Regions from separate parts of the Homo sapiens genome. Here regions 1, 3 and 4 are each linked to region 2. The links are contacts of gene promoters, found by promoter capture Hi-C in blood cells and fetal thymus (Javierre and others, 2016). All regions are on one chromosome and are shown on one strand. Each heading gives the region's core, a stretch centred on a gene start or on the middle of the fragment in contact. The rest is flanking DNA. Distances are from core to core; before and after follow the strand shown. Region 1 overlaps PPME1 (protein phosphatase methylesterase 1). Region 2 holds the start of UCP2 (uncoupling protein 2). Region 3 overlaps PPME1 (protein phosphatase methylesterase 1). Region 4 overlaps PPME1 (protein phosphatase methylesterase 1).

What was found. The method cuts DNA at HindIII sites, captures the fragments that hold promoters and counts their contacts. A CHiCAGO score of 5 or more calls a contact.
Region 1: a contact is called between a fragment that was not itself captured here and the fragment with the promoter of UCP2 in region 2, in 1 of 17 cell types (erythroblasts). The highest score is 5.0, in erythroblasts.
Region 3: a fragment that was not itself captured here is called in contact with the fragment with the promoter of UCP2 in region 2 in 1 of 17 cell types (erythroblasts); the score reaches 6.8 in erythroblasts.
Region 4: a fragment that was not itself captured here is called in contact with the fragment with the promoter of UCP2 in region 2 in 9 of 17 cell types (erythroblasts, megakaryocytes, fetal thymus and 6 more); the score reaches 12.8 in erythroblasts.

What each region holds. Positions count from the first base shown.
Region 1 is chr11:74,193,084-74,196,394 of GRCh38, forward strand. The region is part of intron 1 of PPME1 (protein phosphatase methylesterase 1); the gene reads left to right. Among named protein-coding and RNA genes, the nearest start is that of PPME1, 23 kb to the left of the region's middle. The HindIII fragment of the contact is 3,249 bases long and covers 1-2,978 here.
Region 2 is chr11:73,980,884-73,984,295 of GRCh38, forward strand. It overlaps UCP2 (uncoupling protein 2), which reads right to left and starts at 1,960. Exons shown (of 8, transcript NM_003355.3): 1 at 1,838-1,960; 2 at 593-749. RefSeq lists silencers at 1,871-2,080, 2,381-2,540 and an enhancer at 2,797-3,297. The HindIII fragment of the contact is 10,071 bases long and covers 632-3,412 here.
Region 3 is chr11:74,227,351-74,230,478 of GRCh38, forward strand. PPME1 (protein phosphatase methylesterase 1) reads left to right here. Exons shown (of 14, transcript NM_016147.3): 6 at 2,895-3,049. Among named protein-coding and RNA genes, the nearest start is that of PPME1, 58 kb to the left of the region's middle. The HindIII fragment of the contact is 565 bases long and covers 1,557-2,121 here.
Region 4 is chr11:74,173,346-74,176,893 of GRCh38, forward strand. The region is part of intron 1 of PPME1 (protein phosphatase methylesterase 1); the gene reads left to right. Among named protein-coding and RNA genes, the nearest start is that of PPME1, 3.8 kb to the left of the region's middle. The HindIII fragment of the contact is 790 bases long and covers 897-1,686 here.

The DNA.
Region 1 (3,311 bases), core at 104-2,603, 210 kb after region 2:
CTGTGATGTTACTGTGCTGGTTGGTTACCCTGAGTACATTATGTTTTTTCACTGTATTAATGGTATGTTGTATCTTTTACTGTTAAGTACTTATGTGTGAATAAGTGTAATAAAAATGATTATTAGTAACGTGTAAGTTCAATCAGGAATGATGGTGATGCCAAACAACCATAGATTTTCCACATGGGTGGCTAAGATAGTGACACCGTTGCTTTCTGATGGTTCAGTTTACACAAACTTTGTTTTGTGCACAAAATTATTAAAAACATTGTTTAAAATTACCTCCAGGCCATGTGTATAAGGTCTTTATTAAACATAAATGAATTGTGTGTTTAGACTTAGGTCCCATCTCCAGGATATCTCATTGTGTATATGCAGATAATCCAAAATTAAAAAGGAAACAATAAACTGAAATTTGAAACCCTTCTGGTCCCAAGCATTTTGGATGAGGGATACTCAACCTGTACGGCCTCTTCAAATACTGCTTTTATTTCACTGTCTTTATTTCCTTTCAGAACTTCAGTTTGACATATTTAAGACTTATTTACTCTTCCCTTCATATTTCTTAACTTTTGTATTTTCCATCTTCTATTTGTATTTTGGATTCTAAATGTATCTAGATGTATCTGAACAAATTCACTACTAGTTTACGCTTCTCCTTAGCTGTGTCTAATATGTTAAACTTGACTATTTGTTTTTTAATTTTAATTCTTTTCATTCTAGGAGCTTGTTTCAAGTTTCTGTTCATTTAAATGTGTTAAGCAGTTATTTTATATTGTATTTGATAATTTCTTTATGTGAACTCTTTACAGGTCTGTTTCCTCACGTATTTTATGCTTTTTGATTGTGAGATGGTCATTTGCCTTGGAACTTTCTTAAAGTTCTTAGTCCTAGAATGAAGATTGATTCTTCAAAGAGGATTTGCCTTTGTTTCTCTTGGGGGTCCTGAGGGCACTACCAGTTGGATCCACTTTACATTCTCATCTTGAAACTTCTTGGGATATGTAAATGATATGTATTTAGCTCCATATCAGTTTGAGAGCTGTCTTTGTTTTTTCTTGCTTCTCCCTTCTCAATGCTAAGTTTTAAGACAGGCCTTTTTTTATTTTATTTTTTATTTTTTAATTTAATCCTGAGATTGTGGTAAGAAGCAGAAAGTTAATTCTGTTTCAGCCTTTCACTGAGCTTATGATTCTTTGGGATCCCAGCTTGATGGAGAAAGGTTTCCTACTGGGCTCCGCAGCAAGACTTCCCACCTCGGGCTTTGTGTCCTGTTCTGTGTGCATCGCAAAACTTCAAGTTCAGACAGTTGGCAAATGCCATCAAGGTAAAAGCCAGATTTAATGGTCTAAGTGCCTCTCTGGATTCCCACCTTACTTAACTTTTGACCTGGGTCTTCCCTGTTCCTTACTTTCTTGCCAGCTCATCTATGCGTTTAAGAAGAACGAATGACTATATAATTACAATATATAAGATCATTATATATAATTATTTAATAATTATACACTATGATTGTATAAATATAACATCTATTTATATAATATTTTTCACACAAATACTTACATATAATTTTAGCCAATATTTCTCAAGTTGGATCTATTAATTACCATAGACAGAAGCAGTCCCTAATATAAGATGTCTATACTCAGGCAGACTGTCAGTCATTGTGTGAAAATGGGGAACGCTATTTTCAACATGCAAAGTTTCAAAATTAATGTCCCTTTCTCATGAAGCTGATGGAGGATGTGTTTCATCAAAATAAGAGACTACAACAAGAAAAATATGGGATATGGGATAAGGGATTCAACACAGGTGAAAGGCAAGAAGAATTCCTGAGATGATACTAAATTGTTAGCAGTTCATTATATCAGACAGCAGGCAGTCCTATTTGGAGCAGATGAATGGAGGATGCCAGAAATGGAAATTTGAGTGAAAAATAGACCTGGTAGATTATTTAATGTGAATGACCAAATATTAAGAGAAGTTTTACAGAATTCAAAGGCTTTATTTGTTTAAAATTGTGAAATACTCATACAGAAAAGTAAAGTATATATGTACAGTTCAAAGAATAATAAATTCTCATGTGTCCGTCACCTAGCTTAAGAAATAAAACATTATCAGCACCTTAGAAACCTGTTTGTCTCTCCTCGAGAGCATCTCTGTTTCCCACACTGGTATTGAATTGCATGATAATCAGTGCCTGGCTTTTCTTTATTGTTTTACCACTTGTGCATGTATACATTAAAAATACATTATTTAGCTTTGCCTGTTTTTGAACACTATTATTAATGGAATTATACAGGATTCAGTCTTCTGTGCTTATTTCTTTCTCTAAGTATTTTTCAGATTCATGTACTTTTAAATTTATTTTCACTGCTATGCTATATTCTATTACCCAGATACATCACAGTTTGTATATTCTATTGGTGATGCATATTTAGCTTGCTTCTTATTCTTTGCTTTTATAGACATGTGTCTACAAACATTCTTATATGTGTGTTTTGATGCCTATGTGCAGGAGGTTCTCTGTAAAGTAAAATTACCAGGTTGAAGGACACCTGTCTAATTTTATTAGGTGATGCCTTACAGTTTTCCAAATAATCTTCCCTGTTTCCTTGTTAATACCTGTTAATGTCTGGCTTCCTATATTTTGTCAACATGATGGATGTGAAATATGATACTTCACTGTAATTTAAATTTTATGTATCTTAAATTGGAAACCTTTTCATATCTTTATGGGCTGTTTGTGTTTCCTCCTTAGGGAAAAGCATATTAATGTCTTTTGCCTATCAAAAAGTTTTGGGAAACAGTTAGTGACACTTTAATAGAAAACTAAGCAAACAAAATTAAAAAGACAATTATTCTGGAAAAAAGCAAAAAGTTGTACAAGAAGTACAATTGGTATACCATGTGGCTCAACTATAAACAGTGTTTCTATAATGACTAACAGGAAGTACTTACTAATAATCACTTTGCAAAGCTTACAGTTGAAGAAATTGAGACAGATTAATTTGCCAACAGTCACATAGCTTGTAATTATTGGAAATGAAATTTAGACTAAAAGAATCTGACTTCAGAGCCCATGTTCTTATCCATGAAACTATGCTTATTTCTCTCTGTATGTAGCCATAGTATGAAAATGGCATATAGTTTAATGAAAAGGATTTTATTTTAATGAAGTTCAAGTCCTGTGTCTTTTTTATCACTTCTGCTTTGGGTGTTGTATCTAAGAAATTGTTGCCTAACCTAAGATCACAGAGTTTTACTCGTTTTTTACTTCTCAGAGTTTTATAGTTTTAGCTCTTGTATTT
Region 2 (3,412 bases), core at 710-3,209:
GCTGGGTTGCAGGATGTTGTGAAGGCCAGAGAAGAATAAGACCCAGCTGCTGCCCAAAGACAAGTGCACAGAGGTTCAGCTGCCATATTCTGAATGTTGCCTTGGGCTTGCCAAGTCAGGTCCTTCAGAGGGTGGGTAAGATGGCCCTACTAACAGCAATTAAAATGCAGGACTAGAAATAGTTAATCCTATTTTACAGTCCCCAGCAAATAACCAGTTTCAGAGCCGGGCTGATTACCAATCTCGGTTTCAGGGATAGTCAAAAGCTAGCATCAATATGAAGTTAGAACAATAGGTTCCTGTCCTAGCTCTTCTGCTGGCTCCCGGGATGACTTGGGGCCAATCACTGTTACACGTGGGCCTCAGTTTTCTCCTTTATAAAATGGGGACCAAGATCCTTGGCTTGTCCGAGTCAGCTGAAGGGCCAGAATGAGAGCGGGGAGGTGTGAGAGTGCTCTGTGAACTGGAAAGAGCCACTTCACTGTCGGGGGTGGGGATGGTAATTATTTTTGTTAATGCCCTGCTGACTCCTGCCCCTAGACCACAGGGTTAGGAGGCAGCAAGAGACCTCTTCCTTGGACTGGACTCTTACCCGGCTTTGTAAGGTCTCACGGTGAGGCCTCCAAGATCAAGCTTCTCTAAAGGTGTCCCGTTCTTCAAAGCTGCCAGTGGCTATCATGGCCCGATCCCCTTGGTTTTCCATAGAAAATGGGTGGGAGACGAAACACCTAATGGTCATACTATGTGTCCTGTGGGTGAGCAAAGGCAGAGAGTTTAGAAAGGGCCACCTGCCCCAAGACACACAAGCCCACCCAATCCATGCCTTGGAGGGGGATGGGGAACAGGGCCCAGGGACTGGTTAAGTGCACACACTGGAAAGGGGAAAAGCAGGGCGGAAAATGAACCTAGGTACACTCCCCACCCCCACCCCACCTGCTTAATATCACAAATTGGTTCTCATCCAGACTTCTGCTTTTGTAACACTCAGTACTCTATATAAGCACCCCCTAGCACAGTCATCAGACTTTGGTGAGTGGGAGAGTTGTGAGGGGGTCACGATGGGACAGAGACTCTCCGGGAATTGGCTAGGTCCCAGGTCGGGCTGTGAGGAGGTTGGAAGGGCTGGGAGCCGGCCCTGCAGAGGCCAGATTGAGCAGCTCAAAGCCCACTAGAAAAAGCCCCCAAGCCCTGGGAAAGGCGGTGCAGGAACACTGCCTGGAGCTGCCTGGTAAGGGAGAGGTCATTGTGGTCATCGCTGATGGTCCCCATCCAAGGCAGGGCTCGGCATCGTGGTGGAAAGGAGGGAGTGAAAAGGTGGAGGCTCAAACGACAGCCAACTGAACGGGAGAGGGAAAGAACAAAAGGGACTAAGAAAAAGAGAGAAGAGAAATAAAGAACCAAGGACAGAAAGGATTAGCACAGGCCGGACCCGGAGGCTCATGCCTAAAATTCTAGGACTTTGTGAGGCCGAGGCGGGCGGATTGCTTGAGCTCAGCAGTTCGAGGCCAGCCTGGCCAACATGGCGAAACCCCATCTCTACAAAACACAAAAATTAGCCAGGCGTGGTGGCGGGCGCCTGTAATCCCAGCTACTCGGCAGGCGGATCGCTTGAACCTGGGAGGTGGAGGCTGCAGTGAGCCGAGATCGCGCCACTGCACTCCAGCCTGGGAGACAGAGCGAAAGCCTGTCTCAAACAAACAAACAAAAACAAAAAATAAAACCGAGAGAAAGAAAAGAGTACAAACTTGGGTGGGAGAGAAGGTAAATGGAAGAGCGGGCAGCGCACGCAGAACAAGCGTGGGGGGCGCAAAGGGCGCAGGGCTGGGGCCAGGCTCACCGAGCCGCAGGGAGAACACGGCAGTGCGTGCGGCTGTGTCTGTCGGCTGGCGGAGGGCGCGTCGGACGAGCCGGGCGAGCGTGGACAGTCAATCCCAAGGCGCGCGCAGCTGGGCTTCGCAGTGGGGCTCCGCGCAGGCGGCGGCGCGGCTTAAGCCTCGGGGGCGGGGCCCGGGGTGGGGCCTGCGGGGCGGGGCCGGGCCTGCCAGCTCCTACTTGGGTGCGGAGACCCTGGAGCAGCCGCCTTTCCGCGGGGACCGCCCCGCCTAGGGTTCTCTCCATGACTTTCTCCACTCCCGTTTCCGTGCGTCCCATCACCGCGTTTACTCCTTCGTTCCCCGAGATGGTCACTCCCTTGCCACTCCCCGCCTCTGCCTCACACTCTCTCGGGCCGCCAACCTCTGTGAGGATGGCAAGACTGACCGCCAGAAACAAGTCTTGTCCAGTCACACACCTCTTGCCTTCCCAGCCAGGACGGTTTCTAACAGCGTCCAGCGGGGCCGTGTCTTAAGTGCACTTCCTCTTTTATGGGCCCAGCCCCCCTACGCTGGGCAAACTACCCACCCTCCTGCGAGCGAGCGCGCGGCTGGCTCCTGCAGGGCGGGACTGGGGCCTCGCGACCGGCCTCGCTGTCGATTGGTTACAGCCGCCGCGTTGTCGGGGGAAGGAACCAATCAGAACTGCAGCAACAGGTGGCCCGGCAACCGACAACAGCCGTTGGGCTCGGCTGGGGTTCGCGCCTTCTCCCCCGGTGGAGCGGCCTGGCGTTTAGGGACCAGGACACTAAAGGCCCCGGCGGGGCGGGAGCACCCAGCGTGACCTCACGCTCCTACACACAGACAAGCAAACGGGCCGGCCCCCGCACGTGACAAGGCAGAGCCGGGCCCAGGCCAGCTGCCTGTCCAGCCCTGGGATGAGAAAAGGCGTCAGGAGATGGACCGGGCCTGGTTCGCCTTTAATTGGCTGACCCGTCCTGTGGGGGTAACTGACGCGTGAACAGCCAACAATTGGGCCCTCTGGCCGGGACAAACACGTGCGTTTGGGGAGTAGAAGAAGGCTGGTATTAACCTCCATTTTACAATGAGGAAACGGAGTCCCAAAGACGTTCAGTCATCTTCCTGATATTCACACACTTACACCCTGGTCAGGCCGGCGCCATATGTGTTTTCACCAGCAGAAGGGACTGCCAGGGAACAGCTGAGGGGACCAGAGCTGGGATGGGCCTGGATAATTATAGCGGAAAGAAAAACACGCCGAGCGCATGGTCCTGGCAGAAGCAGCGTGGAAACAGAAGTCAAGGCAGATTATTTCTGCCATGAGGAGATCTTGCCATGTAGGAAAAAAGAAAGAAAGAGAGGAAAGAAAGACAGAGAGAGAGAGAGGAAAGACAGAAAGACAAGAAAGAAAGAGAAAGAAAGAAAAGAAAAAAAAAAAGAAAAGATAAAGTTTTTTTGTGGCACTGTGAGTCTCCCTCCGCCAGGTTCTCTAGCTTTTGCGCTGAGCTCTGTCTGGCTGTGCATTCCGGAGAGGCTCGGCAAATTTGCTGTGAGATTGCTGAGCAACAGCAGAACAGATG
Region 3 (3,128 bases), core at 589-3,088, 250 kb after region 2:
TTAATGGTAAAAATCATCCACAGTAGATGATGACCAAGAATCAAAAGGGCGAACAAATTGGATTCTTGCTGAAATTATCCAAGCAGTAAAACATTTGTGTGATTTCTGAATTCAGTTACTGTGGAAAAAAAAAAACCTCAAAATGGGCATACTTATTATCAACTGCAGAACCTAAATACTACCTAAGAAAGTATGTGAAAAAGCCAGAATTTGAGCTTGGGTCATTCTGATATTCCAATTTCTGTGATACACAGTAATGCTTCTCAGAAAATTAACCTAGCATTAAAATATGACAGAATCCCTTTAAAAAGCATCCACCAAAATTGTAATACATCCAGTTACAGTCTAGATTTGTAGGTAACCCTTGCTACTTCATCTTTATTGTATTTCTCTGGATTTTCAGGACTTATCTCAAGTAAGGTACTTGTTGACTGAATGCTCTGCTTGATTTTAATAACAATAAATTTCTCTTGGTGGTAGATGATCAAGTGATTGATCGTAACTACCTTCTACCTGGGTAAATATGCCTTTCTTAAGCTCAGACACGATGTTCAGTTGGTGTGTTTCAGACCTCTCTACCTTTGTGCATGAGGCAGATACTGCAGAACCCCTTCAATTCAGTTAATGTGTATTTTAAGGTGACTTGGACTTAGATAATCGTCCATAGCATCCTTTTATTTTACTCATTATTTGTCTGTTACCAACCGAAAGTTTCTTGGAATTGTTCAAGAATTATTCTGGAAATTACATGTTGATATTTAATATAAACATGTTTTAAACTTTAGTCTTTTCTTTAAAAAAAAAAAAACAGTTTGCCCCCAAAATTGTATCCAATATTGTTTTAGATTAATTAATTGAGCATATAATTTTTTCTGGTCTGTTATTTTAATATGCAGAATTAGCTTTGGAATACTACCTGTTTTATTTTTTAGAAACTGTATGTGTAATAATTTCCTCTGTGTTACTACTCTAAAGACCACATATTATCGAATCTTTGTTCCTGATATTTTCCAGTGGCCTCTGAGCAAAGGCATCATGGTTTTGACTTCATGAAATTACTCTGAATTCACACTACCCTATGCCAAGGGGAGATGGCTTTACCATTTATGCCTGAGGTTGCAATTTTTTGAATTTTTGCAATCAGAACTTGGTGATGACCTTGGGCAGTAGGATATAAATAACTCCCACATGCTTAGTGTTCCAGTAGTGGAACACTAGCATAAATTGGTTAACTCGTTGAAACATTGAAAATATGTTTCAGTGAGGTAACAAGAATCTGCAGCTCTTTTTACTTGGTAGAAATGCAATAATATTTTTATAGACCCAGTGAGAAAATGCAATAATATTTTTATAGACCCAGTGAGATTAATTGATTAATACAGAACCTTCTAGACAGGGCTGCTGAAGGATTACGTTAGGTGATGTTATAAGAAAGTTTAGAGCACAACTGAAAAAGAAGCACTGAATAAGTATTAGTTCTCTTTTCTTTCCTTCATATCATTTTGTCTCCCAGAGAGAATTTTGTGTTACTATAGAAGCAGCACTGGTGTCAAAGAAGCTTGGACTTTTCGTCTTAACTATTTGTTATCGCTTTGGATGACTGCCTGAACTGCTTCACTTTCTGTCTTAATCTTAAATTTAAGTCGAACGAATATTAAACTATTTGTTTTCACTTACAAAGTTTGGTGGCCTCCCTATCTCCCATTCAGATTGTCTACAATTGCCGAGGCTACCCTATTCACTCCTGCAGTTGTTGTATGAGATTTTAAAAATCAGTTCCTACAGAACTAATAACATTTGCCTTTGCCATTATAAATACTGTAGAGACTATATATGAAAGTCTGTGTTCCTACCTTGACACTTGCTATATTTGGTTAACACTGTGTGAGTGCTTAAGGTATGCAGTGACACTCAACAAGACAAAACTTTCTTTTGAAGTTGAACCAGCCACTCCCAAAAGAAGGGGGTAGAACTAGCCTAAAAATATATATATATAATAAGGCAGTAGAGCCAGTGGGTCTCCAGAAACACACCTTACTGTTCTTATCCACCTATTGCTATAGCAAGGAAGGCCTACATGCAATTAAAAACCAAACTTCATACTTCAGTTCTAATTTTCAAAGCTTTAAAATTAGACTTTGTTAAATAGGTCCATTAATAATTGAAGATTAGAACCAAAGCCAATAAAATGAGCTCTGAACACCTTTCTAGTTTCTCAGAGCACTGTACTTACATTTATGTTCATCCTTCAAACAAATGAGAAATTGTAAATAATAATTAACATTTGTGAAGCATTTTACTCTTTCGAGGTGTTTTCTTGTTCCCTTCTCAGTTAATCCTCAAAGCAATCCAGAGCAGTCAGTGATATTTTTATCTTTTTTTATAGATGTCGAAACTCAGTTTCTGAGAGATTAAGTAACTAACCCAAGATCACATAGTGAAAAATAAACTGAGGCTAGGGCTCATCTTGTGATTCTGAGGTTTACTACATTATAATGCTTAATAAATTTTTGTTCTTGTTTTATAGATGGGAAAATTGAAACAGAGCAGTTAAATGATTTTTCCAGTTTCAATCTTAGGTTCAAAATAAAGGTATATGTTTATGTAATTGTACTACATATGTGGAACAGTGAAAGTGTGATGTAAAGGAAAATTCAGTAATTTGGGTTCTTAGTCCTTTACCTGCCATTTATCAGGAGAGCTAGGTGTGTGGCTACACATATTGATGCTGGGGACATGTTAGAAGGTTTACATAGGTATGTTTGTAAGATGGCCCAATAGACTTTTACAGTTTCCCAGCACTGTTACACACCAAAGAAAGGAACTGGGAAAGAAAACCATTTTTACAGTGTTGTCAGAAAGCATTCTTAGATCTTTTTCTCTTCTCTTTGCAGAGACGTTGGCAATGTGGTTGAAGCCATGTATGGGGACCTTCCTCCTCCAATTATGCTGATTGGACATAGCATGGGTGGTGCTATTGCAGTCCACACAGCATCATCCAACCTGGTACCAAGCCTCTTGGGTCTGTGCATGATTGATGTTGTAGAAGGTGAGTTTTCTTAGCACTGACCAAATCAGGATTTCACTTATAAGAGACATCCTTGGTAGATTATTACCTTGTCTTAGTT
Region 4 (3,548 bases), core at 42-2,541, 190 kb after region 2:
TAAGAAAATCAGATTTTTAATAATTATACATTCCTTAGATAAGCTTAATTAGAGCTCAGCTTCTCATCTTGGAGAAACAAGTTCTCTGAAGATTGAAGAACTGAATGAAGATACTGAGAGAAAAAAAAAGGAAAATCTGCTGATTAGAAGATTGTATAATTGTTAGTAATTTATCGTTTTTATTTTTTATTACTTTTCATTTTATTTTTTTTTAGAGACAGAGTCTCACTCTGTTGCCCAGGCTAGAGTGCAGTGGCACAATCTCGGCTCACTGCAACTTCCACCTCCCGGGCTCAAGTGATTCTTGTGCCTCAGCCTCCCAAGTAGCTGGGATTACAGGCATGCACCACCACGCCCGGCTAATTTTTGTATTTTTAGTAGAGAGGGGATTTCGCCATGTTGGCCAGGCTGGTCTTAAACTCCTGGCCTTAAGTGATCTGCCCCACTTGGCTTCCCAAAGTACTGGGATTATAGGAGTGAGCTACTGTGCCTGGACAACTTACCTTTTTAAAAAGATGCTTTGGTCTTCTTGGTTTAGGTTAACTGCTTATCCTGGAAAAGAAAGTTCTTTAGAAAGGCCTTTCTTTATGATAGTATTGTGAAGAGAAGAGCATATATTGGCGAATATTTGTGTGGTCCTCAAATGGCTTATTTTCCCGTATCTTTCTTTTCTACTTTATTGGTATATAAGCAGGCTTCATCTAAGTCTCATGGTAGTAATAATATAGATTCTCTTTCTCCTTAGAATCATAAAGCTGAGAGAAAGCATAGACATGGTCTCATTTCACCACTTCATGTAGTTGAGGAACCCAATATTCAGAGAGTTCTGTATTCTATAAGGGAATGTATTAATAAATGAGGGAACTGAGACTCAGATATTCCTAAGGTACCCTAGAAGCTTAGCGGTAGGGCCGTTAAGGACTAGGACTTGGGTCTCTTGACTGTGAGACCCATTGTGTATTTTGGAGTCATAATTGTCATCTGGGGATACTTATTTTGAGTTGTGTATCTTACTCATTTGCATATAATCTAGGATTCAGTCTTTTTCTTCAGTCGTAATTTATGAAGTCTCACACCAATTTCAAAGCATTCTTTATGTCTCCTTATGCTTACTTGCTTTTTTCTTAACTTCCATTCTTCCACTCTATCTATGTTACTCACAAGTTAGTCCTGTTCTCTTGATAGTCTCTTGTGTGGCTTACTCTTAACTATTTTTCATGATCTCTTGCCTTCAATTTCACTAAACATTATTTAGGCATGTTTGCATATTCAGGGTGCATATTCTGAGTTGGTGATTTTTCATGAGTTTCCATAATTCAGTTTTTCAGATTAGATTTAGTAATTCCAAAGTATTGTTGGATAATTTAATAATAGCAATTTTTAAAGTAAGTACTGTGTGCCAGACATTGTAATGGTAACTTTATGTTATTTAATGTGTCCACAGACCTGCATGGTGAATATTTTCCTGCATTGTGGGTAAAGACATTCAGACCCAGAGATTAAAAGTAACCCAACTAGTAGGTAGCAGAGCTAGGATTCAATCTAAGTTTAGTCTCTAGAATCCATTCACTTTTCAGTACACTAATATTTTCTCTTGGGTAAGGCCTGAAATCCTGGTGTCACTCTTCCTTTTAATAGATGCCAATGGATGTTGCCAAAAACAGTGGTTTTGAACTTCTTTATTAAAGCTTTTAGAGCTACTCTGACTAAAGTAGATTTGAGATCCCTATTTGCTTTGCACCCCTGGTGTGCTTGAGAGAAGTATCTTTTGAAAGTCACTGCTTTCGTATATACTATTACTATTAGAGGAACTATAAAATATTAAAGCCATTCATTATTCAACGTGTTTTTGGTTTATCAGTAGTTGTACTTTTTGGCCAGGTGTGGTGGCTCATGCCTGTAATCTCAGCACTTTGGGAGGCCGAGGCGGGTGGATCACCTGAGGTCGGGAGTTCAAGACCAGCCTGACCAACATAGAAAAACACCGTCTCTCCTAAAAATACAAAATTAGCTGGCGTGGTGGCACATGCCTGTAATCCCAGCTACTCAGGAGGCTGAGGCAGGAGAATCACTTGAACCTGGGAGGCGGAGGTTGTGGTGAGCCGAGATCGCGCCATTGCACTCCAGCCAGGGCAACAAGAGCGAAACTCCATCTCAAAAAAAAAAAAGTTCTACTTTTCTATTATTATCTCTTAAATTCCTTTTTTTTTCTTTTGCAAGAGATAGAGTCTTGCTGTGTTGCCCAGGCTGAAGTACAGTGGCTTTTCACAGGCATAATCTTGGTGCATTACAACCTCAAACTCGTGGGCTCAAGCAGTCTTCCCACTTCATCCTCTTGAGTAGGTAGGACTGAGGATACATGCTAGCATGCCCAGCTCTGTAGTGATTTAACTGACATGTATATAGTAGTCCCTTTTTATATTCTATGAGGTAAACTAGGGCAGGAGTTAATATTTTCTTTTAATAAATGAGAAAACTGAAATGTTCATTGACTTGCCTAAGATCACAGAATCATTATGTGGCAGGAACAACATTCAAACCCAGGACTTCGTATTTTTAGTCCATTGTTCTTTCTATAGCTTGCATTGAAGGGTTTGATATTTGAAGTGACAAAGATCTAAGTTTGAAGCCCAACTTAGGTATTTACATTGGTCGAGTCATTTAACTTCTCATAGTCTATTTTCTTATCTCTAAAATGAGAATACTTCTGCTTACCTGAGAGTGCTGTGAGAATAAGATAATACATAAAAAGCACTTATAGTTCCTGACACTGACACATAAGCTCTTAAAGAATGATAGCTAGTAGATAATTATACATTGAGAACTGTGAAGAAGGTTCATAGTTTATGTGGAAGCTCTCCTTTCAGTTTCTTATGTTATCAGCTTTTTTGTCCCCACAAGCTGTATGTTTATTCATATCTGATTAGATAGTCTTTCATCCATCTTCTTAAATTTATTATGGATATCAGGCCTCTTAGGAAGGCTTTAATGAGCTATTCACACAGATGGGGAAATAAAGGGCAAAGTGAAGTGATTTGCTCAAGGTCACAAATTGAGTTACTAAAATAATCAAATCCCAGTATTTCTGTTTTTTTTTTTATTTTTTCATTAGATTTTTAAAAAGTTAAATTTATATGCCATAGAATTCACTCTTTTAAATGTACAATTCAGTGATTTTTGGTATATTCACTCAGTTGTACAATTACCACCACTAATTGCAGAACATTTTCATCCTCCCATAAACTCGTTACTCATTAGCATCTTCCCTTCCTCCCAGCATGTATTGCTTCTGGATCTTGAGTCACAGAAAGGCTTTTCCTTTTTTTGGGTTATAAAGGAATCATTTATATTTTTTCCTGGTACCTGTGTAGTGTCCTTTTTTTTTTTTTTTTTTTTTTTGAGACAGAGTCTTGCTCTGTCACCGAGGCCGGATGGAGTGCAGTGGTGTGATCTTGGCCCACTACAACCTCCACTTCCCGGGTTCAGGCGATTCTCCTGCTTCAGCCTCCCAAGTAGCTGGGATTACAGGCATGCACCACCACACCCAG